3 separate regions of the Homo sapiens genome follow, and all the other regions are linked to region 2. The links are contacts of gene promoters, found by promoter capture Hi-C in blood cells and fetal thymus (Javierre and others, 2016). All regions are on one chromosome and are shown on one strand. The core of a region is centred on a gene start or on the middle of the fragment in contact, and the rest is flanking DNA. Distances in the headings are between cores, read along the strand shown.

Region 1 (3,374 bases), core at 306-2,805, 4.2 Mb after region 2:
AAGAAAAGCACAGCTTTCACCTCACATTTGGGAACTGACAATTCTCCTTCCATTTCCTCTCTCAGTGTGGCTCTTGGGTGTTTGGTTAGCAGAAGGGGATAGGAAGATAATACGGTTTATTTATAGGCTCCCTTTTCCTTTCGGGGAAAAAAAAAATCACCCTTTCCTACTAAGAGTATGGCAGAGGAGGGATTTTTAGTGTAATGGAAAGGCAATAGACACGATAATCCGGAAGATCAGAAAGATGATCTGTCTCAGCCCTATCACATAGACAGCTGGGCAATTTAAGAATGTGTCTCACCTAAAACATGGGACCCAGGGCAGGAAATGAAGGTAGCACCAGGAAGTGCACTCTCTTACTTTCAGTGAAAACGTTCTTGCCTGTGAGGAGCTAATATTGAGTGACACTCTATTACACCCCTAAATGGCGCTACACGCTGCGGCCACTCTGTTGACTGTTCATGTTAACACTCACACAGGTGTCACAGCAAACAACCATCAATGCTACTTCTAAAGTCGCCCGGTTCCATGAGGAAAAGACCACATGCTTTGTACCACCCAGGCCCAGGCCGTTCATAGGTAGGGGCTTAGCTGACGCCTTTTGAGATACTATGTTTCTCTGCGTCCTGGAAGTTAAGCTAGGGTTGTTTTCCTTTATATACTCCGATTTTTAAAAAAAATTTCTCTGCACTACCTCTTTACCACTGTGGATCTAAACCTTATAATCTAAACCACACCCTCAGCAATCGGAACAGAACGGAAGTTCCCACTCCAGGAAATCTTGAGAAGGTTTGGGAGGGTCAGGAGTGGCACGGGAAAGGAAAAGTCTGGTCAAAATCAAGTCTGTTTAAGTCCGTCGAACCTACTTCCAGGCCATTTGGTTTTCCGTCTCCTGCCCTGCTGGTCTTTCAGGCCACTCGGCCGGCGCCGAGGTGATTTAACACCTGCCGCCGCAGGCCCCGCCTCCGGACTGCGGGTCCGGATCCCTCTCCTAGGAAAGCGCAAAGGCTGCCTTCACAGTCACCACTTTGGAGACGTTGCCTCCGCGCCCTTCCTAACTTTGGAAGCTAAAAATGAGGGGGGGTGGAGGAGAGAGAAGGCCGTGCGGAAAAAGAGCAAGGTTGTCCCCCCTTCCCAGGGCCGCCCCCTGGCCGAGTCGCCGGCAGCCGCCTCCAGCTCCAGCCCGTCCTCCTACAGCCGCGGACCCCGTGCCCAGGGCGCTCCGCGGAGGTGGGATGCGAGCGGCCTCCGGAACCAGCCTCGACCAAGGCAGCGCCCGCGACCGCCGCTCCTTCGCGGGATCGGGCCTGGCTGCCCCGTGAAGGAGCCCATGGGGGCCTCCGCCTCCCCGCGGCCGGCCCCGCCTCCAGCCCGCAGCTCCCCGGCCGCCGTCGGAGCCCTTACCCGCAGAACGTGGTAGCCCTCGGTGCCCCCGCCCGGGATCTCGACGCTTTGCGAGGAGCCCATGGCGGCGGGCGATCGGTGTGGCCGAGCCGGGCTCCGCGCTGCTCCCGCCCCCAGCGCACCGCCTGCTCTAATCCTCCGCGTAGCACTTGGGACGTGGCACTCGCTGCCGCCGGAGAGCCGGGCCGCACAGCCCGCCGGGAGATCGTCTCTGCTGCAGCCCGGGCCGCTGCGACGCCGCAGACAGCGCCACCTGCCGCGAGCCACTGGAAGGGGCCCGAGCGCTCGCGGGCCGGGAGGGCGGAGAGGGAGGGCCGGAGGAGGACTGGGAGGCACCGCGTCGTGCTCGCGAGAGAACAGAAATGCGCTTCCCCCAGCTTTGGCGCCTTGCTACGGGGCCCTGGATTGGACTAGATTTATGCAGACGCGTTCCCGCTCGCCTGAAAGAACACATACTTGGTTGCAGGTCCCCCTGGTGGCCAGAGGCGGGGAAAGGGCTGCTGATGAACAGGAGCGAACTCAACACACACCAAGCTCTCTGTTCTCCGGGTGTGTAGGTATTTTCCCAAACTGTACAGCTGAGGGGAATAGTGGCCTCCTGTGGGCTGCCTAGCATCTGCTCAGCTAAATTTTATAAAAGGAAACGCTCCCTTTATAAAACAGTAGTCTCACAGAGTCACCTACCAACTTCTTTTTTGGTTTGGGTTTGTTTTTTTTTCTTCCTCCCTAATTGTGAGAATAAGATTAGAGGATTGGTCATAATCAGAGCGATGCCAGCGTGGGAAGCACGGTTGGATTTCCCTGGCATTCCACCACCTGCTGCTGCTCGGTTCCCCGTCCTACCTCCTTCAGGTAGCCAGGTCGTATTCATGCTTATTCCGTTGTCGTATTCCGTTGCTGCTTTTGCCCCTTACGTGTACTCCCTCTGAAACCCCTAGTTGCTTTGTGGTCAGTTGGACTGATGTTGCGTCAACCAGGTATTATGTGGATTCCTATGTGATGCAATGTAAAGTACGTGCTATCGCCCATGAAGTATTCTAGCCCAAGGTGGTTAACTTGCCTCTATGGCATCTTGAGTTTGATGTTTACAGGAAGTAAGGGGAATTGAGGAGCAAGTAAAATGACACCACAGGGAACCAGGCAAATACAGGAAGTGGGCCTTCCTTCAGGACAGCTGGCCAGTTCTCTTTGTCGAGTCAGAGTCCTATGAAAGGGCCTATGCCAGATTAAAAGGAACCCGAAGAATATAACCAAGAGACACATTGCAAGGGCTTGAGTTGGGGGCCAACTTGGAGAAATAAGCGTAAAGGACATTTTTGGTTCATTTGGAGAAATTTGAATATGTACTGAGTATTAGAAGAGTAGTTATTCACATGGAAACGTGGAAATTATTGTCTTTTTTAAAAGCTGGTTACAAGACGGGATGTGTCTGTAGACAAAATGAAAAACATGTCCTCAAAATACAGATTAATATGTATGTATGCATATGAAGATGTGGGAGGAGAATATGAACCAAGGGTTACAGTGGTGATCTCTGGGTGGTGACAGAGATATTTTATTTTTTGTTTTGGCTGGTTCCATATTCTATGATGCTCATGAAGTGCTTTTGTAATAAGAAAATATTATTTAAAATTTAAAAATAATTTTCTTTGCTATCGGTAAGTGAATAGCAGATTTTTAGGAGGCCTAATAAATCCATAAATCCATAAATGAAATCTCCAGTTATTAGGCTCCTCAAGGACAGGGTCTGCAGTGGAGTTGGCTCTATGTTCTTGATATTTACCAGAATGCCTAGCAGCTAATTCAACAAATTAATACATTTAATGCAAGAGAATAAATGGAAGAACTAGATCTAATTATAATGTTCTCATTCTGCTTGGCAATTATAACCCTCTTTATGATGGAAGCTGCTGCCATGTTCAGTGGTCAAAATTTTTGGACCAGTTGTCTCCCATATGTCTGATGGCAGC
Region 2 (3,291 bases), core at 406-2,905:
CAGATCGGCATAGTTTCCACCTGTTTCCTGCGCCTATCTTATTTTTTTTTCTCACTTTAGGTATACCCTCTCTTTAGAAAATTAGCTAAAACTGAATTATCAAAACAGATCAGAGTACTGTTCATATCACTAAACAGTTCTTCTCTTGTCTAAAAAGAACTGAAAGACTTTCTTTAAAATAATGTGTTTCTCGAATGCATCATGTAGATAACTAACTGCTTGACAACAGACTGGAGAAGTAGCAATGAGAAATTTAAAACCAAAGCTACTGCCCAATTGAATCAACACTGGAAAAAATTTCAAATGGAAAAACAATTTTTTTAAAAAAATCTATTCTAATTGACCCAAACTTCTTTTGAAATGTCGTAACATTTGCAGTTCTTTTTCTCACATTAGTTGTTTTGGGAGATGGAGAGAGAAGCATCTATTTAATCAATGCGTTCTAGACCTAACAATTGTGATGTCAATCAAACATTTTGTCCACCATTTCCATCATGAGTAATCTGAACTGTGAGGTTTTGCTGACATAATTAGTGTTACACTACAATGGCACTACTACATTACTGTTACTATATGGGGACGGTACTTTCATTTTAAGTAGGAAAGTGTTAATAATTTGGCTTAATGTTTCTTAACTAAAATTAGTTTTAAAAGAGGACTGAGTTGGCTTATACACATGTATGCGGTCCAGAGACCTACCTGTTAAAATGTCAATGCCATTACAATTTCACTTTTATGCCAGATATCATTCTTGAACTTCAGGCTCATTAACTCTCATACTATCCCCCAAAACCTTTCAACAATTTTGAGAGTGTATTTTATGTTAATATATAAACTAGTTCATAATTTTGTTCCAGACTAGAAATCAGTATTTAATAAATGGAAAAAATAAGACACTGAAAATCTTTTATTGAATAATGTAAATTCTCACAGAGGCCTCTGATCATACTTTTCAACTTGTGCCTATTTATTGAATAACCAACATCCTTACAGTTAATATTAAAATCTTTAAGTTGTGTGGGGTTTTTTGGAGGGGAGGGATGGGCAATTACCAGCAAACTCCGCCTCCCCCAAACCTCACCTAACCCGAAGCTCCCCGCCTCAGGCTCCCGGGGAGCCAAGGGGTGGGCTGAGGAACGCAGCCTACTTTTACCCACCTCCCTACCTAGTGCTGGGAAGTGACGGAAACGGAGACACCCGGCTCCTGGGGCTGGGCTCGGAGGACCCATCCTGCTTTCCCTCTAGCAGCCTTTCCGGAGCTCACCACCTTTCCTCCCCTCACACCGCCAAAGCCCTGCCTAGCCCTTCACCGCCGCCTGCACCCGCGCCCTCCTCCAGCCGACAGCCAATCACAGTCTTCCACAGCTCCGGGTTTACAGAAGTAACGCTCCTTGGGCCCTCTGGTCCCGCCCCCTCCAGAACTGCTTCCCGCCCTTCGGGCTCCTTGTCCAATCATGAGCGCCCGAGTGCTCTTTGATGCCCGTCCCCTCTACCCGCCCTGCCGAAGACCCGCCTTCTTCTCCTTAAGCCTGACGGAATCACCTGACTCGGAGGCGCTCCCTCAGAAGGAAGGCAAGAAGGGGCGTGTGGGTGAAGGGGAGGGGCGCCAGAAGGAAGGTGGGGATGCCGGGAGCGGGGCGAGCGGGCGGGGGTTGTCAGTCCGATCTCGCGAGAGAGGACGGAAGCCTGTGGGAGCCCGTGGCCTTTAAAGTGCCGTTCAGCCTTTTCCTCCAGGGGTGCTTTGTAAACACGGCTGTGCTCAGGGCTCGCGGGTGACCGAAAGGATCATGAACTAGTGACCTGGAAAGGTGAGTAACGATGGGCAGAGGTCAGCAGGGCTGGAGACTGTAGGGATACGGAGAAAGAAGGCGCTAACATGGCGACGTCGCTCAGCACAGTCCCCACCCCCCGTTTCCCATCACCTCGGGTGCTCCTGACGTGCTCCTTAGCCCTTGGGGCGATTGTGGCTGTGCTGCCACCTCGGCGGCCCGCGCGGTGTGGGCTTTGGGAACCTGACTGGCTGGGCCGGACCGTTAGGTAACCAGCGTTCGTTGTTCCGGCCCCTCCCTCTCGCGCGCTTTCCTAAGGCAGAGGAAAAAGGAATAACGGCTCCCTCTTAGACCCCTCCCTCCGAATTATCTTCACCCTACTTGGGTCAGTTCAGAGGTCCTCGGGGCGCGCGTCGAGTCAGCCGTGTGCGCAGGGAGACCTCTCCCACCCACAGTCCTTGGGTTGGGCGGGGAGAGGGCCCACTCTGGTCTCCCCACCCAGTATTCAAGCGATTGAGGACCGTGTATTGGTGATGGTGGCGGGGAGGAGGATCGGGAGGCGCGGCTGAAAATAGAATCAGGGTCCCTGGCTGCGGTGCAGCTTGAAGGAAAGAATGGTGTGGAGAACCTAGGAGCTGGAAGTCTCGGCCTTTTCCGTCCTTTCCGCCACCCTCACAATCCCGCTACCCCCAGCTTTTTCCCGGTGGGGCGGGGCTTAGGTGTGGGTGCAGACTGATTCTGGTATTTTCCCTTATTTTTTTTTTTTTAAATCTCTGGGTGGACAGCAGAGCGTATGTAAAGAAATAATTTGCTTTTCATCAATGCCCTAGGGACCAGGGCCGAAAGGGAGTGTGTGTACGTGTTTTCTATGTTCGCTCGTTTAACCGAACCTAGGAGGAAAAAGAGAGGAGGAGCTGGGAACTATTTTTGTGCCCCTAGGTAGTATAAAATTGGCTTTCTTTAATGGAGAGTCTTAAAACTGGTGAGGCCAAGAGCAAAACTACTGTGAATATCATGGAGTAAAAGAGATTACTCCTGATGGACCTTAGGCATCAGAAATTTTAGTGAAAGAAATGTTTCTCTTAAAATTCAACACCTATTTTAAATAGTGATGTAAAGCATTTCTTTACATGTACCTTCAGGTTTTCTAATGCTTTCCTGGCTATTATTTAACTGGTACTAAGGGATTGACTAATCCCTAAATTATAATGTGAAAGTTTAAATTTCTTAGAGGTTTTAAATTATGGAGACGGTCACAATGCATGCATTTAAGATATACATTTAAAATCAGAACAAAAACTGACTTTCTTTGAGCACACTTTTTGTCCTATTTGAAGAAACATGACCACTGGCGTTATCATTGTGAGTAACAGCCGTTCTGATCTTTAAATAGCCATATAGCTTTGGTCTCTTGAATCAAAATTATGAAGGTAAAGCTTTATTTATAAAAGCTTGTTAAAAAGTCAAACCTACAGGTTTAAGTGTCTTAAAGTACAAACACAGAAGCAGTTTTATCATGTAT
Region 3 (3,415 bases), core at 1-2,500, 3.7 Mb after region 2:
AGTTAAGATCAACAGTGAGGTGAATTACAGCAAAATTATCAATAAAAAGTTACCTGCTGACACAGCGCCGATAATTGTCAAAATATATTCTTCCTCTCTCATAGGCTATAGGTGACCTGGAATGAGTTGTCCAGACATTCTTAAATTTAGTACTTTCCTAAAAGACATAAAGAATTTCCGTTCAGGAAAGAACTCTTAGGCTTTAAGTTAGATTTTAAATTTTCAAAGCAACATAATGTCACCTATATTATTTTAAAACTTTTTGCATCCTTCCTCCACTCTGCCCTCATGTTTTGGCTTAATGAGGTGACCAACTTTTAGAATAATTGTTTCCAGGTAAGACATAAGAAGCGTAAAACTAAAAGCAGCTGGTGGCCCTATTACCACCTATCCCAGATTCCGGGCTTGTATCCTCCTCCCCATCACATGTGACCCTATAAAGGGAGGCCCCAGCGCGTTAAAACCGCATCCCCGCAGGAGGCTCGGCCGCCGCGCGCCCGCGGCCCTCCGTCCCGCCCCGGCCGGCTGGCGGTCACCTGGCACACCAGCGCCCGCAGGATGCCCAGGTTGGTCCTCTGCACCACGCCTGCGTCGCGCGAGAAGCAGCCCAGCGCCCGGCGACTCAGCCGGCTGCACACGTTGGGCTTCCGGGTCGGGCCCATGGAGGCGCGGGCCGGGCCCTGGGTAGGCTGGGCCGCCGAGTGGCGCGCCCCACACTCCCGTGCTGGGCAGCCGCCGCTGCCTTCGAATTTCGAGGCCCAGACTTTCCCGGCGGGGCCCAGGGAAAGCTGACACGGGGAGGCGGGCAGGGAGCACCCGACGGCGGGGCGAGGGAAAGCAGAGCCGCTTGCACCGCCAGAGCGCGGAGAGAAGGGAAGAAGCACTCCCTTTTCGATCTGCCCCAGGCTCTCTGGCCGCTGACAGTGCGACGCTCCGGTACCGCGCGGCCGGCCGGAGCCGCTCTCTCACCGGGAAATGTAGTTCCTAGTGCCTCGTGAGGCAGCCCGGCTTCTCCCAGGAACTACAATTCCCGTCAGGCGGCGGGGAGCGAGGGCTTGCCCGGCCCTGCCTCTGCCTGCCGCGGCCCCGCCTCCTCCGGCCCGCGGAGGCTGCGCTGTCTTGCGGGCGCGCTTCTCTGTGCTGCGAGTGGCTAGCTGGGCAGAGCCCTGGGGGCGCGGTGCTGCCGCCTCCAGGTCTCCGCCCCGTGTGTGCGCCCTGCACTTAGGGATCCCTCCCTCACTGCCCCGGTACTCACAAGCTTCTCGGCCCCGACCTTCGCCCTGGGAGGTTCTGGCCAGGTGCCGGGAGGGGCGCTGTGTCGAGGGCGATCCCCCCAAAGCAGCGTCCCGTGCTAAAGGTACGCCCCGCGGCTTTCCCTTCAGCCGCATGTTGGCTGAGGGGGACGGTAAACTGTGCTTTTGTATTAGGAAGATGCTGGCTTCCCATTCACTCTTAGTTTCACCCTCCAAACTGGGATTGAGTTACTCTTTCCCGGAGGCTTGTCCTTGGGTGGCCTGCGGGGACACTGACTGGTTTTGCGATAATTGCTTCATTTCATTTCCTCTCGCCTCCATTCTTTTTTCTTTATAGGGAATAAAATATGAAATGCTTACATTCTTATTGGACGGCCTAAGATATTCCTCGTCGATGTCTCTAAGTAAAAGATATACTTTGTTAACTAGCCCTGCCTGTATGTTCAAAGTTCCCAGCACACTAAACTTTCAGCAAGCTTGCACCACATGTGTCCCACCGCCATGCTCTAAGTCCCTTAAGGGTGGGGCCGCTGTATCTCCCACGTGGACTTGGGCATGCTACCTCTTGTTCATAGGTGCTCAAAGAAAGCCAGCGATCGCACCTGACTGGCAGAGCAAAAAGTACAGTACAGCAGGTCCTTGAATCGCATTTTTTCGTTCAGTGTCATTTTGTATAACTTGATGAGAAAAAATAATAATTTCCTACCGGGGCTACTGTTTGTGTGGATCTTGCCCCTTCTCCCCACGTCTGCATGGGTTTTCACCAGGTACCCCAGGGTACTGCCTCCCACATCTCAGTGCAGGCTGGATGAATTGGCCTTGTCTGTGTTTCCTGTCTGAGTGTGAGTGTGAGTGCTCCCTGCGATGGAATGTCGTCGTGTCCAAGGGTTGGTTCCCACCTTGCACCCTGAGCTGAGGGGATAGGCTTCAGCCACCCTCGACCCTGAACTGGAATAATTAGGTAAATAACTATCTTACTTGTTTTTATTAATCTTCCTTAAATGTATGTATAGCTCCCATTTATTTCAATGTTTAATATTAGAAGTGTTTTGGTTTGTATTTAGGAGTTTGGTGATGTTTTTGTGACCAGAAATATGTTATAGGAACTTAACTTTTGTTTATATCAATTGGCCTATGGTAAAAATGGTTTTGTTATATGTCATTTTGCTTACAGTCAGTTTCCAAAAATCTGTTGATGACATTAAGTGAGTACTTACAGTACTGGGTGAGTGTGTTGGGTCACAGTTTAAGTGTTTAGTAAACATTGGCCATATCTCTTTTTAACCCTGCTGAATTTCCTTCAGGGCTCGAGCTTTTGCTGATTTTTCATGACTTATTTACAGCATACGGTAGAGTGCTTTGTATATTTTTAGAGAGTGCTACAATAGTTAATTTGGTAATTCATGAATGCAGCTGTCACTGAGAAAACTGGAACCCAGAAAAGATAACTGGGTTTTCTTTGGCTTAAATGAAATTCAAATCATTTCTGAATTGAATTCATCAACTCTCTCATTTCTCTTTCCTCTTTGCCCCCACTTGTTTGTCTTCTTTCTTGTGGCCTTTATTTCACCACCAAGTCGTCACCAAGGGAGAGTCATCCTGGATGCCTTGCTGTTCCTCACCCACAACCAAGTCCTTTAGACTCTTATCCATCTCATCTTCATTTCACCTAAGTAATTTAGGGCCTCACCATTTTTTATCACATTATTAAGTAGTCTCTTAATTTCTGCCTTACTTGTGACACAGGATTTTTTTTTTTTGACGTTGCTTTGCCACTGGAGACCTCCGCAGCTGGAGACCTACCCAGGCCTTGCTCGGGCTGGGCTTGCCACAGGAGGTGCCCTGCACAACTGGCCCACTGGGCCACTCCTGGCTTGCACGCAGGTGTGGATCCTGTGGCCACCTGACTGTGGGCTCAGCCCCTGGCAGGAGAGGGTGTCTGAGCTGGTGAGTGCAGAGTTGTGTGGTATCCAGCTGGTTGCTCCAAGTGCCGGCACAGGAGCTGGCTCCGTGCACCGCTTGCGGCTGGACCAGGCATGTCACAAGTGACTCCCACAGTGGGCTCTGGAGTCCAGACTAGGGGAAGGTGGTGGTAACCAAATGGGTCAGGCAACCCAGAAGCCCCAGAGGTGGGTGTTACAGCATGCTAACAGCTCTTTTAG

The links. The method cuts DNA at HindIII sites, captures the fragments that hold promoters and counts their contacts. A CHiCAGO score of 5 or more calls a contact.
Region 1: a contact is called between the fragment with the promoter of GORASP2 here and the fragment with the promoter of ATF2 in region 2, in 1 of 17 cell types (activated CD4 T cells). The highest score is 5.1, in activated CD4 T cells.
Region 3: the fragment with the promoter of METTL8 here is called in contact with the fragment with the promoter of ATF2 in region 2 in 3 of 17 cell types (monocytes, activated CD4 T cells and total CD4 T cells); the score reaches 12.5 in monocytes.

The regions. Positions count from the first base shown.
Region 1 is chr2:170,927,434-170,930,807 of GRCh38, reverse strand. GORASP2 (golgi reassembly stacking protein 2) reads right to left here and starts at 1,555. Exons shown (of 10, transcript NM_015530.5): 1 at 1,405-1,555. The coding sequence starts at 1,467. RefSeq lists a silencer at 1,077-1,776. The HindIII fragment of the contact is 11,137 bases long and covers 1-3,374 here.
Region 2 is chr2:175,166,567-175,169,857 of GRCh38, reverse strand. ATF2 (activating transcription factor 2) reads left to right here and starts at 1,655. Exons shown (of 14, transcript NM_001880.4): 1 at 1,655-1,808. It overlaps MIR933 (microRNA 933), which reads left to right and starts at 2,149; the gene lies at 2,149-2,225. RefSeq lists a silencer at 1,637-1,706. The HindIII fragment of the contact is 6,773 bases long and covers 1-3,207 here.
Region 3 is chr2:171,431,825-171,435,239 of GRCh38, reverse strand. It overlaps METTL8 (methyltransferase 8, tRNA N3-cytidine), which reads left to right and starts at 1,250. Exons shown (of 10, transcript NM_001321154.2): 1 at 1,250-1,357. It overlaps DCAF17 (DDB1 and CUL4 associated factor 17), which reads right to left and starts at 1,014. Exons shown (of 14, transcript NM_025000.4): 1 at 537-1,014; 2 at 54-157. The coding sequence starts at 662. RefSeq lists enhancers at 188-747, 1,567-1,636, 1,309-1,869, 1,847-2,016 and a silencer at 347-1,256. The HindIII fragment of the contact is 4,328 bases long and covers 1-1,260 here.